Linked DNA regions of Homo sapiens: all the other regions are linked to region 1. The links are contacts of gene promoters, found by promoter capture Hi-C in blood cells and fetal thymus (Javierre and others, 2016). All regions are on one chromosome and are shown on one strand. Each heading gives the region's core, a stretch centred on a gene start or on the middle of the fragment in contact. The rest is flanking DNA. Distances are from core to core; before and after follow the strand shown.

Evidence for each region. The method cuts DNA at HindIII sites, captures the fragments that hold promoters and counts their contacts. A CHiCAGO score of 5 or more calls a contact.
Region 2: a fragment that was not itself captured here is called in contact with the fragment with the promoter of SIX3 in region 1 in 1 of 17 cell types (naive B cells); the score reaches 6.5 in naive B cells.
Region 3: a fragment that was not itself captured here is called in contact with the fragment with the promoter of SIX3 in region 1 in 1 of 17 cell types (total B cells); the score reaches 5.3 in total B cells.
Region 4: a contact is called between a fragment that was not itself captured here and the fragment with the promoter of SIX3 in region 1, in 3 of 17 cell types (total B cells, naive B cells and M1 macrophages). The highest score is 6.9, in total B cells.
Region 5: a fragment that was not itself captured here is called in contact with the fragment with the promoter of SIX3 in region 1 in 1 of 17 cell types (total B cells); the score reaches 5.1 in total B cells.

Annotation. Positions count from the first base shown.
Region 1 is chr2:44,940,395-44,943,094 of GRCh38, reverse strand. SIX3 (SIX homeobox 3) reads right to left here and starts at 1,393. Exons shown (of 2, transcript NM_005413.4): 1 at 185-1,393. The coding sequence starts at 990. It overlaps SIX3-AS1 (SIX3 antisense RNA 1), which reads left to right and starts at 1,217. Exons shown (of 2, transcript NR_103786.1): 1 at 1,217-1,385; 2 at 2,262-2,700. RefSeq lists enhancers at 1-350, 1,433-1,959. The HindIII fragment of the contact is 26,724 bases long and covers 1-2,700 here.
Region 2 is chr2:44,514,805-44,517,504 of GRCh38, reverse strand. All of the region lies in intron 3 of CAMKMT (calmodulin-lysine N-methyltransferase), which reads right to left. Among named protein-coding and RNA genes, the nearest start is that of CAMKMT, 150 kb to the right of the region's middle. The HindIII fragment of the contact is 434 bases long and covers 1,042-1,475 here.
Region 3 is chr2:44,452,754-44,455,453 of GRCh38, reverse strand. The region is part of intron 3 of CAMKMT (calmodulin-lysine N-methyltransferase); the gene reads right to left. LOC124905999 (a long non-coding RNA gene) reads right to left here. Exons shown (of 2, transcript XR_007086303.1): 2 at 1-2,700. Among named protein-coding and RNA genes, the nearest start is that of CAMKMT, 92 kb to the right of the region's middle. The HindIII fragment of the contact is 163 bases long and covers 1,346-1,508 here.
Region 4 is chr2:44,493,164-44,495,863 of GRCh38, reverse strand. The region is part of intron 3 of CAMKMT (calmodulin-lysine N-methyltransferase); the gene reads right to left. LOC124907758 (a long non-coding RNA gene) reads right to left here. Exons shown (of 2, transcript XR_007086302.1): 2 at 1,900-2,290. Among named protein-coding and RNA genes, the nearest start is that of CAMKMT, 130 kb to the right of the region's middle. The HindIII fragment of the contact is 544 bases long and covers 1,059-1,602 here.
Region 5 is chr2:44,429,946-44,432,645 of GRCh38, reverse strand. The region is part of intron 3 of CAMKMT (calmodulin-lysine N-methyltransferase); the gene reads right to left. Among named protein-coding and RNA genes, the nearest start is that of CAMKMT, 69 kb to the right of the region's middle. The HindIII fragment of the contact is 707 bases long and covers 998-1,704 here.

The sequences.
Region 1 (2,700 bases), core at 144-2,643:
CAATACACCCACAGCCAGCCCGGCCCCCTCTTCCGCGCGTCCCGGACAAGCGGAAACTTTCTCCGACTGGCCAGGAGTCACGGCTTCCCTGGCTCTCAGCGGCCGCTCCGCTAGCCCCATCTCAACCCCTCTCCCCTTCCCAGGCCTCTGAGGCTGTAGCCAGGCCGCGGGCCCCGCCACTAACCTGTTCTTGGCCGCCGCGGCGCGGTCGCGCTGCCGCCGGTTCTTAAACCAGTTGCCTACTTGTGTGGGAGTGAGGCCGGTGGCCTGCGCCAGTTCGCGTTTCTTGCTGGGGTTGGGGTAGGGGTCCTGTAGGTACCACTCCCGCAACAGGCTCCGAGTCCGCTCCTTGAAGCAATGCGTCTTCTGCTCGCCGTCCCAGATGGTGCGTGGCAGCGGGAACTTCTTGCGCACGCGGTACTTGTCCACCGGGCCGAGTGGGCGGCCGCGCAGCTTCTCGGCCTCCTGGTAGTGCGCCTCGAGCCACATGGCCTGCAGCTTGCCGTGAGACTCCTTGGTGAACTTGTGGTTCTCAAGGATGTGGTAGAGGTCGCGGAAGTTGCCCGTGTGGAAGGCGACCACGGCGCGCGCGCGCAGGATCGACTCGTGTTTGTTGATGGCCTCGCACGCCCCGGGGGCCACGGGCAGCGACCAGAGGAAGCGGCCCAGCCGCTCGATGTCGCCCGTCTCCTCCAGCGTCTCACAGACGCTGGCCACCTGCTCCGGCGAGAAGTTGAGGGTGGGCAGCTGGAACATGGACAACTCTTCCGGGGGGGCCCTGGAGCCGCCGCCGCCGCCGCCGCCTGCTCCGCCAGCACCGCCGCCTCCCGCACCGTTCCCGCCGCCGCTGCCGCCTCCCGCGCCGCCGCCGCCTCCCGCACCGTTCCCGCCGCCGCTACTCGCCAGAAGTATGGAGCGGTGGTGAGAATCGGCGAAGTTTGGCAACAAGAAGTGGGAGGAATAGAGGTCTAGGGGGGAGCGGAATACCATGGACTGACCTGAGAGGAGAGGAGAAAATTCAGGGAGAGGAAGAGAGAGGGGAGGAAGAGGAGGAGAGGGGCGATGAGGACCAGGAGGAGGGAGAGGAGAGGGGGGAGGAGGAGAAGGAAAGGAGGGGGGAGCAGGAGGAGGAGGGAGAGGAGGAAGGGCGTAAGGGACACCCACACCCCACACACATCCACACACACACACACCCGCGCAGCCACATAGAGAGGGAGGTAGGAGAGCGGCCCGGTGCGCGCGCGCAGAGAGAGAACCCGAGACAGAGAGGGAGAGGGAGAGGGAGAGAGGAGAGGGAGAGCCAACCACCGCCGAGTCAAGATTCAGCGATTCCACCGCAATCGCCCTAATGACAACAGCCTCATAATATCTCCCCTAAATCCACAGTGAGTGCAGCATTGAAACATTTTGTTTCGCTTTTCTATTGGTCTGTGGCGTGTCGTTGTGGCGTTGCCACGGCAACCACTGCCAATCACTGTCAGCCCTGCCAATCAATACCGAGAACGTAAGGACGGTTTTACCACTTAGCCAGAGGGCGGGGGGAGGGGGAGAGCAGGGAAGGAGGGAGAAGTGGGGGGATAAAGAGAATTTTTTTTATCTTTGCAACTCTTAATCTCGCTACCTCCCCCTCCTCTCTTCTCTCTTCTCCCTCTCTCTCCTCTTTTCTCTACCGCTGTCTCTGAGACTTCTTCTTCCCTTTTTCCTAAAGAAGTTGATCCAGAAATTCGAAAAGCCCTGGGCAGAGTTGTTGAATGGGATGTGCAATTAGAGAGGGGATTTTGTTGGGAGGCAAGAGGGTCCCCCAGGCTCCACATAGTCCAGGTCGGCAGGCAAGGAAAGACGGCTGACCAGCCCAGCGGGCGCGGTTTGCACATGGTTTGCACGTCGGGCCGCCTCTTTCTGCCTATGTGAGCACTAATAGTGGCAAGGAAGAAAGGAGAGATGAGATCATGGGGCCCACCAAGCACCGACCTTGGCCCAGCGGGCCGTGGCGCCAGCCGGGGATCCCGGATTCCGAGGGTATCTGGCGCCAGGGAGCCTGAGCCCAATTCCCAGGGTGCTGGAGGCCGCTCTTGCCTCCCCCATCGGTGCCCATGGACCGCATTCACCTCAACTCCCTCTTCATCAATTAGGCTTCTCTTTACTCCCTCCCCGGCCAAGGAGCCTCGATTTCCCCCACCACCCTGTATTTTAAAATAACAGTCCAAACAGTACACTTCTTTCCATCTTAAGAAGCAACTCAACTCTTTGTTTCTTCCCAGAATTCAGCTGCCTCTCTGAGGAGTGGTGGAGGAGCTGCGGGAGCCGAGAAGCCCAAGAGCCCTCTGGACCCAGAAAAGTCCTACAGATGCCCACTCCTCACCACACAACAGAAGGAGCTCTGGTCCTGCCTGCCAGCCCCAGAGGGCACTCAAACTTTGGAGGCCAGCCACCCGGATGAAGTGAATAAGGCCTGAAAATTGCTTGTTTGCTCGTATTGTAAAATAATAATAATTACCATTATTATTTTTAAACTGTCTAATTTCTCTAGGGAAAGTAACATCGAAAGCCTAAAACAGACGCCAAAAGGCCCATAGAACACAGAGGGCCCTCTCTGCCTCTGGCCACCACAGCCCCTAGGCCAGGCATGGGTATTTATTCTTAGGTATGTTGCTTTTAAGAAGCTGTAATCAGCATCTTGAGCCGGGCCTCCCTTTGTGA
Region 2 (2,700 bases), core at 9-2,508, 430 kb after region 1:
GCAAAAAGGAAACCATCTTTTTGACTTTGGTTTTTGTTCCTTCAGAATAAAATCCCATACTCACAACAGCACACCCCTTGAAAATTAGGAGAGTCTGCTGAACAATTTAGCAATGAAAAATTATTGCTGTATTTTACCTAACATATTGCATTAATTCTTAAGTTGCTCATAAAACATATTAATCAAAATTGAAGACTTCTTTCTAGACACAGATTGTTTCCAGACACAGTGTATCTTCTCTGATACATTTTTGCGTTGTCTTCATTCAAAAAAAAATTTTTGAAACAATTATTTTTGGTCACTTTAACAAATGCTTTTAGCTATTAAAAGAATGTGGTTATAGTTCCTGTTTTTTTAAAAGGAAATATTAATCAGAAATTTCATTAACAAACACTTATGCACATTTATAATATAATAATCATTTAATTCTCAAAATGATGATTCAAGCTCTTCAAAACCACAAGGCCGGGCAGGGTGGCTCATGCCTGTAATCCCAGCACTTTGGGAGGCTGAGACAGGTGGATCATTTGAGGTCAGGAGTTTGAATCCAGCCTGACCAACATGGTGAAACCCCATCTCCACTAAAAGTACAAAAATTAGCTGGGCGTGGTGGCACATGCCTGTAATCCCTGCTACTCGGGAGGCTGAGGCAGGAGAATCGCTTGAAACCAGGAGGCGGGTGTTGCAATGAGCTGAGATTGTGCCATTGTACTCCAACCTGGGTGACAGAGTGAGACTCCGTCTCAAAAAAAAAAAAAAAAAAAATCTCAAGAAACATCCTTAATTAGAAAGATTAAACTATATTTAAAATAATCTTATGTTTTTAAGTATTTTAAAAATAGCATATATAATACTTTTATTGAAAGGCCATATAATTAAAATTAAACATACAGAGCTTTTCTAAATATTCAAGGGTAATGAGTTAATAGTATATCTCTTTATAGCTATCCCAAATAGAATTATTTTGATATTTAGAGAGGCAATCCTAAATATATTTAGAGAGGGACAAAATTTTTTAACATTTGGGAAAAAAAAGAAGCTTCCCTTAGTTATATTCACTAGGCAGTAAAGACAAACCTCTCTTTCATCCATGTCCTCTGTCCCCTGAATCACACTATCTGGCTAAGACTCAAGCCCAGATCAAAAGAAACCAACAAAAATTAAACTAGAAAATGCATGCTAAAAATAATTTAACTGCATGGCTTCCCCCTGGCCTAACACTGTGGCATTTACTTCATTAAGTGTTTCTAAAAAACTCGCAGTGGGAAAGGTACTTAATTTATTTACTGCATGAGTCTAACGTGAACTGTGAAAGAAATTTTAAGTAAACGGGCATGGTTTGGAACAGGATTACTGGAACATTTGGTGTTTCATATGAGGCGCTCTTTTTTGCCCATCAGCACCCCTGGTACATTTCACCGTAAGCAATGAAATAATTTTGTTTGGCTTCTAGTACATATTTCCTGACAGAAGCTTGGTAATAATGAGAAGTTCTCAAAAAATAAAAATAAAAATAAAATGCAAAGAAAATTGCTTCTCCGTGACTCTCATTCTTTAGACTTGTTCTTTCTCATAAATAGATGCAACTGCTTGTGCTCTCCCCATTTGATGTATCCCAGCAATGTCTTAGACTAAAAATAGGTAAAGGGCCTAAAAACTAAGTAGCCACAGACTAAAGCTGGCATCTTTACTTTCTGCTTTCTCAGAGGAGTTGGACAAAGAAGAAGACAGAGCTAACAACCCCTAACTTGTCTTCTCACCTAAGCTTCCATTAGTTCCTCCCAGCTGTCTACTACAAATTTCAACATGTGCTGTAGCTTTAAACTCAGAATTTCTAAAACCGAAATGATAATCCTTCTTCCCAAACCAGTTTCCCCTCCCAAATCACTGACTCACTCACTGGTGCCATGGTTACTCCCATTTTTCAAGGTCATATCTTTGATTCATGTAACAGAGTAAGTCCTCCAATTTCAGATTTTCCCTAGAAGTAAGATCTCTGTGACTGACAGGTGAATGAATTGCCTATTCCATTGATCATGTAACTCCCCTAATCCCATGTGTTCTAAGATATTCCACAGAGATTATAGATATCCCTTACCAGAGCCTGAAGAGCTACCTTTGCCAGATTGTAAGCATTTTGACTGAGTTTTACAAGTCCCTTTATACCCAAATCCAAAGTTCTACCTAACTCCTCCCAGTCCCACTGAAAAGCCTCTACTAGTGACCAGAGCCACTCTCCCAAAAAGCTTTCAGACACCAAAGCCAGTACTGATCTGGCAGTATATCAAACCCTCCCTTATGGAAATTCAAAACACAAATGAGGCTCCAGTTACTTCTAGGTAAAATCTCTGTAGCTAATATTGTGATGTTAATCCTAAAACCTCTGTCTTTCCCTAGCCACTGGCTTCTCCCACCCCTTAGAGTTAAAACATAGAGATTAAGACACAAAAGTATATCAGGTCAGCTTTATTTGCCTCTTGGCCTGGTAGAAATAAGTGAGTGGTCTACACAGGACTACCCAACTTCTCAGAGGCTATGCAGTTCCCTTTCTCGTAAATATACCAAGTTCTCATCTGTCCCATCCCATAAGTCATAGCAGCCATATCCTATGATTTATGAGTATCCATCATATTCCTTTTATATATACTTATCTTAAAATATTCAGGAAGGATATGGGGAAGAATCTAGGCACGAATATCA
Region 3 (2,700 bases), core at 178-2,677, 490 kb after region 1:
ACTGCCATATCCCATTTTCCTGAAGCCCTTACAGTGTATCATGGCAACGCAATTTCTTCTCTTCTTCCTGCACTGCTCAGACCTCAAAGTTCAAAGGGCAAGCAGAAAGAAAAATGTAGTCACATAACACAGAAAGCATCCACTGGAATCGCTGGTGACTTCTTTCATCCTGCCCATCTTCAGAGATAAGCCTCCTTCTAAAAAAAATCTATCTCTAGGCTTCGTCCTGGAATCCCCAGTCCTACTTTCACGTTTCACAGTTTCCTCCTCACAAATAACCAAATGCGACTAATTATTTTGTTAACCCAGTATGTGGGTACCATGAATTTCTTCTCAAGTTATTCTGAGATCAAGAAAGTTAAAATACCTTTCAAGTGCTTATCTTAGCATCTCATGATGCCATAGAGAAGCAGGGCTAATGTGATGATGCCCTTCTGCCTCATACAACGTCCTCTATCCATGGGTAAATTAAGATTTCAAGAGGGTCACTTCACAACAAAATCAAGAGTTCAAAGACCAGGCTACAAACTGATGGTACTGTTGCTAGAAGTAAGCTGGATTCTGTTAGATAAATAATATCCTCTCTAGGTTTAAATAAAATGTTTATAGATGTGTACCAATTCTTTCATGTCAAGAAATTCTTTTGATTCACTGATACAATACAATTCTAAAGAGTACAGTAGTGACCTAACATGAAAGCCTCTCCAAAAATGCTTGACTTCTACACAGATTCATTGCTATATTAGGTTTGGGGCCATTATGCCGTCCAAGAGATAAGTAAAATAGAGAAACAGATCAGAAATGGAAAAAAAATCTACTGACTATTAAAAATGATTTGTTTTATTATCCTACTTCAAGGCATAGTTACTAAGCAAAGCTAACTTTTAAGTTCCCAGTGCCTTGGGAACCCAGAGGAGGTGCCCTGGAAGCATGAAGGGGTAATGAAGACCCATGAACAAAGCTTTCTGGCAATGCATTTAGAGGGGGATTTCTGACAATTTTAAAATTTTCACCACTGCTATATATTTAGTTTATTTTACTGGTAGGGTCAGAAACATTATTGGATATTGGGTAAAGTACTCAGTTTACTTACTTTGTTCACCCAGATTTCGTTGAGTAATGTATTTTTCAAGCCACATTTAACACAATGCACAACGTTGAACCTGAAGTCTCTATTTTAAAAGCTCTGGCAATTAGCTCAACTTAGAAAAAATAGCAATTAGAATTCTCAAACAATTTCTGCTGTAAACAGAAGAGAATGAAATAACTCACTCTGACTTACCCTATTATTTTTCATAGTATGAGTTAAAAATATATGTTTTATTTAAGAATTGCAGACGAAGCTTCTCCAACTTATTTTTTAAGAGTTGTCAAAATCAGATGTTACCGTCTCCTTATTCTTAGTAAAAGAATTTCTCTAAAATATAGTCAGGCAGACATTTTCCTTCTCTCTCTCAATGGTATTTTGTCTAATTCTTACTTCCATTAAGACAACACTGCCTCAAGCTTTATATCCATTTCCAAAGACTATCTTATTTCTTAAAACTACTTGTTTTAAACTCTGAAAGACTAAAAAGCAGCATAGAAAAACACCTCTTAATCTTATAGTCGTTTTATTAGACTATTTCACCCATGGCAGGAAAGAAAAATGAGAAATTTCATTTTAAACCTAGGTTCTAGAAATGATGTTTCAGTAATTCATTAAAGTATTCATTAAAAGCTGATTACATATTCTTAACAGTAACATCTGCCCCTCTCCACAAAATGGACAATAAAATTATCTTTTAATAAAAATGTTTGCGCTATAAACTACATGATACAAATTTGCTTAAACCAAACTGAATCCATTCTCTATACTAAAGATGACAAAAATTATCCCACTAGCTGAATTTCATTGCCAAGCTGTCAACTTGAATTTCTTCTGTTTAAAAATAGCTGTTCATTACATTCAGTAATGGGCTGTCAAAGCACTACAGCACTGAACCTGTATCATACACAGAAGCAATTGGGCAATGTGCATTATTATGTTTAGATTACTTGCATTCTTTACAAGACCCCTGGGCTAATTTTAAATGAGATGGTTCACTTGAACTAAATCAAAACCTATTTTATTTTACCTTAGAGCTAATAGATATTTTCCATTTATGACTCACTAGTACAAACATTAATAGCAGGTAAAACAAAAACCTTATTGAACATATATGTGAGTATAAGTAAATATGCACATATGTATGTTTATGGATTTGTATGTGGTTTTGCTCCCTACAGCCACATCTACTTTTAATAATAGATGATTGAATTACAACACAAGGCACACCAAATTAGACAATAGTGCCAATATGTGAGCAAGCATTGTCGTCTCCATGAATACATGATAAGTTGTTAACTGGAAGCATCACTCCTGCAGCATATAGTCTTTGATATTTTAGCATAGTAAATCAATTAGACATCTTTTAAACTAGCAAATGTATAATAATTCACCATATAATTTAGCATGGGATATTGTGAACAACTATAAAAAGACACATAAAACCTGCAGCCGAACCATTCTTCCCCAGCATGATATCACAACCCCAAAGGCATCCAATAATGGCTGCAGGATATCAAAGGGATGGTAACTAAACTGATCACAGATGACTTGTAAATATACCTAATGAATGCAAGAACTAGGTTAATCATTTGTAAAATTTTTTCACTAGT
Region 4 (2,700 bases), core at 81-2,580, 450 kb after region 1:
CAACCCAATAGAAGGAGAATAAAACTTTTAGCTGGTCCTGTTCACTGGTGGCTTTCTTTGTGGGCTCATAATGTGGAACAAGAAAGGTACACACCACTGCTGGAACTACACTGTGACAGCTGCTAAAGAATGGAGCTGACTAGAGATTTCAGGCTGGGTCCAAATCTGCCTTGCTCATGCAACTTGCCAACAACCAGTAGTAAGAATTGCTTCCAATTGACATCCTTGGCCTACAATAAAGGGCAGTATTAACATTAACACTACAAAAGCTTTTAGAAACCCAAAGTTAGATTACCAGAATTGTGATGACATTTTTAACAATATATTTTCATGATTTTTTTCACATATTACAAAACTGCAATGAATTTTCTTTTTAATTTTAAAACTTCTAGTCAGTCCTCAAAATAAATATCAATTCTTGGCTGTGCACGGTGGCTCACATCTTTAATTCCAGCACTTTGGTAGACCAAGGCAGGAGGATTGCTTGAGGCCAGGAGTTCAAGACCAGCCTGGGCACCATAGCAAGATCCTGACCGCTACCAAAAAAATTTAAAAAATTAGCTGGGCAGGTGGCATGCACCTGTAGTCCAGGCTACTCAGGAGGCGTAGGCAGGAGGATTGCTTAAGCTTAGGAGTTCAAGGCTGCAGTGACCTATGATCACACTACTACCATTCTAGCCTGGGTGACAGAGCAAGAACCTGGCTAAAAATAAAAATCAATTATTTTTAGAAAGATTGCAGAGGCATTTATTTCTTTAAAAAAGTAGTGAGATTATTCTCAAACCTAAATATACTGCTTATTTTATTACATGGATGTGGACATAATTAGGGTCTATCCATCATCACTCTACATCTCACGTTCATTCAACAGATACTTCCTGAGCAACTACTGTGTGAGATGGATGAAAAAACTAAGCCAAATAAGATACAGTACCTGCCTTGAAAGAGCTCACAGACTAGTGAGGATGTGCTAAGCACAGTGCTCTGATTACTTGAGCTTCACAGAGTGGCAGGCACCTAACCCAACAAGGGCAGGAGGTGAGAGGTCAGAGAAAGCTTCCTGGGGATGTTTTTAAATTTTCTAATTTACTAATAATAATTCTATCTAAACCTTATCTGTCATAATGGAGTCTCTCTTTCCTATACTAATTGGTAGGTTTTAACTAACTCTAACCTGTGTTCTTTAAAAGAATCCATGTTCTCTTGGTACAATTTAAGATCCTAAAGAAAAAGGGCTTTAAAAATACTTTCTCATTAATTTAAAAACAATCCAACACTTTGAATTGCATGTTAGCACTGAAAATGTTTCCATTTTTATGTCCTAGTGTTTTATGTTATTAACATTTCACATTCTGCATGACCATTATCCCTTAGCAACAGTTTTAAAATTTGGATCAAATTCTAGAGAATGAGAGTATCTCATTTTTGTACGTAAACAGAGGGAAGAGGGGGGAAAAAAAGTGAGGTGGTCTCTCTCTTTTGCCCACCTCAAACATAAAAGAAATATATTAAAATACCACTCACAAAATCTCAAGAGGACACAATTCAAAGGATAATAATAAATGCAAGTCAACAAGAGTTGACATTTCCATCACCTAAGCTTGTTGTATACAGTACCTCCCGTTCATGTCTACTGACATCCAAGAGTAAACCCTAAGGGAGTTGTTTTGAGCGAGGGTTTCTGTATGTCTCTTTGAATAGGAATACAAAGTGACAGAAAAATAACTCAAAATTGCTATAAAATGAATGGTATTTCCAAATGCACAGGCAAACAACATGCACTTTAATGTAACACATTTCTTCTTATTTGGCAGTAAGTTAAAACATATGTTGTTTGAAGTTTATATAAAATGGATGAAAAGGTGTTATTTGTGTTAAAAATGAAACCAAATTACTAAGTGGTTTAAAATCCATGGCTTTTATTATCCAAATGTAGCCAGTTAAAAGTAATGTCACTTGAAGAGTAAAAATAAATTAGGGTTAACAGTTACTGGTTTGCTTATTTTTTTGATGAAGGAAATAAACAAAGTAAAACCCTTCAAAAATATGCACTTAGTCATTACAATTTCGTAATTTTCTTTAACACAATTCCAAAAAACAAACAACAAAGAAATTTTGTTACCCCTTAAAATCAAGTACAAATATTTTTTCCAAGGCTTTTTCTTCTATAAATTACCAAAGAAGGAGCTCTCAAAGTTTAGTCACACTTCAAAAAGGAAAAGTCAATGGCAACAGGCAAAAATCAGGTGGTCAAAAATGTCTTTATCAACTTGCCCTGGGAAAAACACATCTCATGAAGAAGAATAAAAACAAAAAGCAAAATCATTATTATCAAATAATTTTTTAAACCATCAATAGTTTGATTAGCACTTTATAAAACAAATAAAAACAACAGTACATCCTCTGGGGTTGTTTAGACTTGAGAGAGACAGAGAAAGACAGAATGATTTCTAACGGGCTGCAGGAGTAGAAGTCCAGAACTAAAACTTAAAAACAAAAAGTTTTGCTACTTTGTTTTCAAATATACAGTATATAGGCAGATATTTGTTTCTGAGGCCTCAGGTACCTGGCACAGGTGACTTTAGTTCTAAAGTCATAACTTTTTTAGGATTCAAAGTAAATTCATGTTTTTTTCCTGTTGACCAGTGCTTAATAGAGCAAAATATTAAGGCCAGGTGCAGTGGCTCATGCCTGTAATCC
Region 5 (2,700 bases), core at 102-2,601, 510 kb after region 1:
GAGCCATAAAATAATATGCATCAATTCATCATCATCTGCTGAGTCAAACATTGGAAAATAATGTCAAGAAGTTACCCTGTAATTACTTCGTGGCTCCTTGAAAACCCATTTGACATAATCACTCTTTGACAGCTGCAAGAGGGAAAATGTTCTATTTCTTCTCCCACCAGTATTCTCTTCTGAGACCCAGGGGCATTGCTTTTCAGCACTTCCTGATCTGCCAAATGTTTATGAAGGAAGTATGTGGGGTGCCTTCGTAATCAGTGCTCCCAAGGCTGGTCAGGGGTTGAGAGTTTCCAATCAAAGCTGTGGATTCAGGAGAGTCACAGGAGAGTCAGGGGATGGGCAATGGGCTTATTATTACCCGTGTGCAGGGAGGAAAATTACTCAAGTACAGGAGTATCTGGTTTTATCTAAAAGACCACTGGAACATTTCTCTCCCTTTTGTCTATGACATTACATTCATTTACAAAGGAAACCCTCAGTAACCACTACATTATAATATTTTAAACATTCTTATTTCTCTGTATGTGGGGCAAGAGTTATTTTAAGATGCGACTAAACCAGCCAAGAAGTTAAATCATCCTGGCCTTGCTGTCAAGAAAGCCTGTAATTTCCATCCAAGATTTTTGGACCCAGGACCACAGTTGGGTTTTCTGCCTATACCTGAGCTGGTAGGAGCTGAACAAAGCTTGCTCTGAAAGTGAAGCACAGCCTTTTTAACAGCTCATTTCCAGGAAGTAAATTGGGTACTTGATTTCTTCTCTGAACACTTACAATTGAGCTAACATCTTAGACTAGTTCCCCATTTCCCAATGGGAGTGTTTTCTAGTTGTCTATTACCACTTGGTTTTCATCAGGGGCATCCACCAGAAGAAAGGCCTAACCCGACAGCACAAGATGATAAGCCTAAAACCCCAGTATCTCAACAATAGAATGTGAGAGGAGCCTAGAAAAAAATTTCTGCAAAACAATCCTATTGTGGGAAACTGAAGCTTCATATTGCACTGGGAATACCTAGGTTCTTATCACAGATTTTTCATTTTTTCCATCAGAAGAGATATGAGTTAGGCCTGTGACACAGCAAGATTTAGAAAGTCTATTGCACTAATGAAAATGTCACTGATGTTACCTCTACAGTAAAAAAGGGAAAAATAAAGACCAGGGAAAGAAGAAAGCAACAAAGGAACTAACCAGTTAGCACTATAATAAATGGCAGCTTCTGGAGGCCATTTTATCCCATTGACAGTAACAAAAAGGGAAAAAAGTCATTTATACAATTTGGTACTTAAAATTGAATTGGGAAGTGCTAATAATATTTTCTCAATTTTCCTAAGTTTCTGAGTTATTCCTCAGAAGTTAATACAAAGTTAATTTACCCCACTTCTCAAATTAAGATTAAAACTTGAAAGGGGAAAAAAAAGTATCAGTTTACCAAAAAATGTTATTTATAATATCTTCAGGTAGAAAAAATATATATACTTACTTCAGAGGGAAAATATCTCTCATTAAAAAGAATAGGTTAATTGTGCTGACCTAATTTAAATCAATATTATTCTCACTTTTATCCTGAATCAATGCCACCTGCATATTTGTAAGAGAATTATGTATGATTACAAAATAAATTGAGTATTTCATAACTGAAATTTTAAAGTAACTTTTTAATAACGTGCTACAAAAATGATAATCTCACTTATTAAAGCTTTGTTTACAGTGTTGATAGCTCTTATAGTACTTTTGCAAATCTTTACTAATTTAACATTACAACTTCCTATCTTTTCCTAATCTCATGTAATTTACCCTACTTAATTCCTTGCTTCTGGATATGCTACATTTGCCACCCAATGAGTTTATTTCACTGGTCATTTACTTTTAACAGTAAAGCCAAACTATTTGAAAGAAATAATCTCCCAACAAATCCAACACAGGAAAAAAAGACTCTTATTTATCCAGCATTTTGTGCCATGAATTGAAGTTTTATTGCAAAGAGTAAGCAATAAACAAAAACACCTCGGGGGCCTGGGAGGAGCAATGTAACCAATTACATTTAATTAAATCAAAGGATGGGAGCCCCAGGGTTGAATGAGCTGAAGAACAAATTTGCATTAACACCTAGCAGCCAAACAAGTAGCTCTGGGTCTAGTATGCAAGTCCAATTGTTACCATCTATTCTCTGCACTGAAGGGGGGCCATTAGCTAAATTCTTAGGCATTGTTTGTCCACTGATGAGAGGCTGCCTTCTCAACATTTCACTTCATCACACATGAAAATTGCCTACTAAAATAAACAGCTTCCTCTGAAAGCTCAGAAACAAACATTATTACCTGACTCCAGTTTGCAATTTGGTGAAAACTCTTCAGGGCTGCTAAAGGAGACAAAAAGAAAATGAAAGGTGTGATTCCAGGCCCTAACTTTACAGTTGATGGAGATCATATGTTTGGGCAGATTCTTTTGAAACATCAGAGACTACAAGGCAGGTTATTCTTTAGCTTCCACCAAGAGTACCACTGTTTTACATGGAATACTTTGACTTAATGCAGCACCATGAGAATCTCAAACATTCATAGCCGAAAGCCCATTGAAAGTATCAAGAAGTCATAATTTCCCCCCAAAATTCTCTCATCTTTATAGAGAGCTTCTCTATAAAGAGTCCTGGATTACTAATTATTTTTATCATTTAGAGATTTTTGTCTCAATACA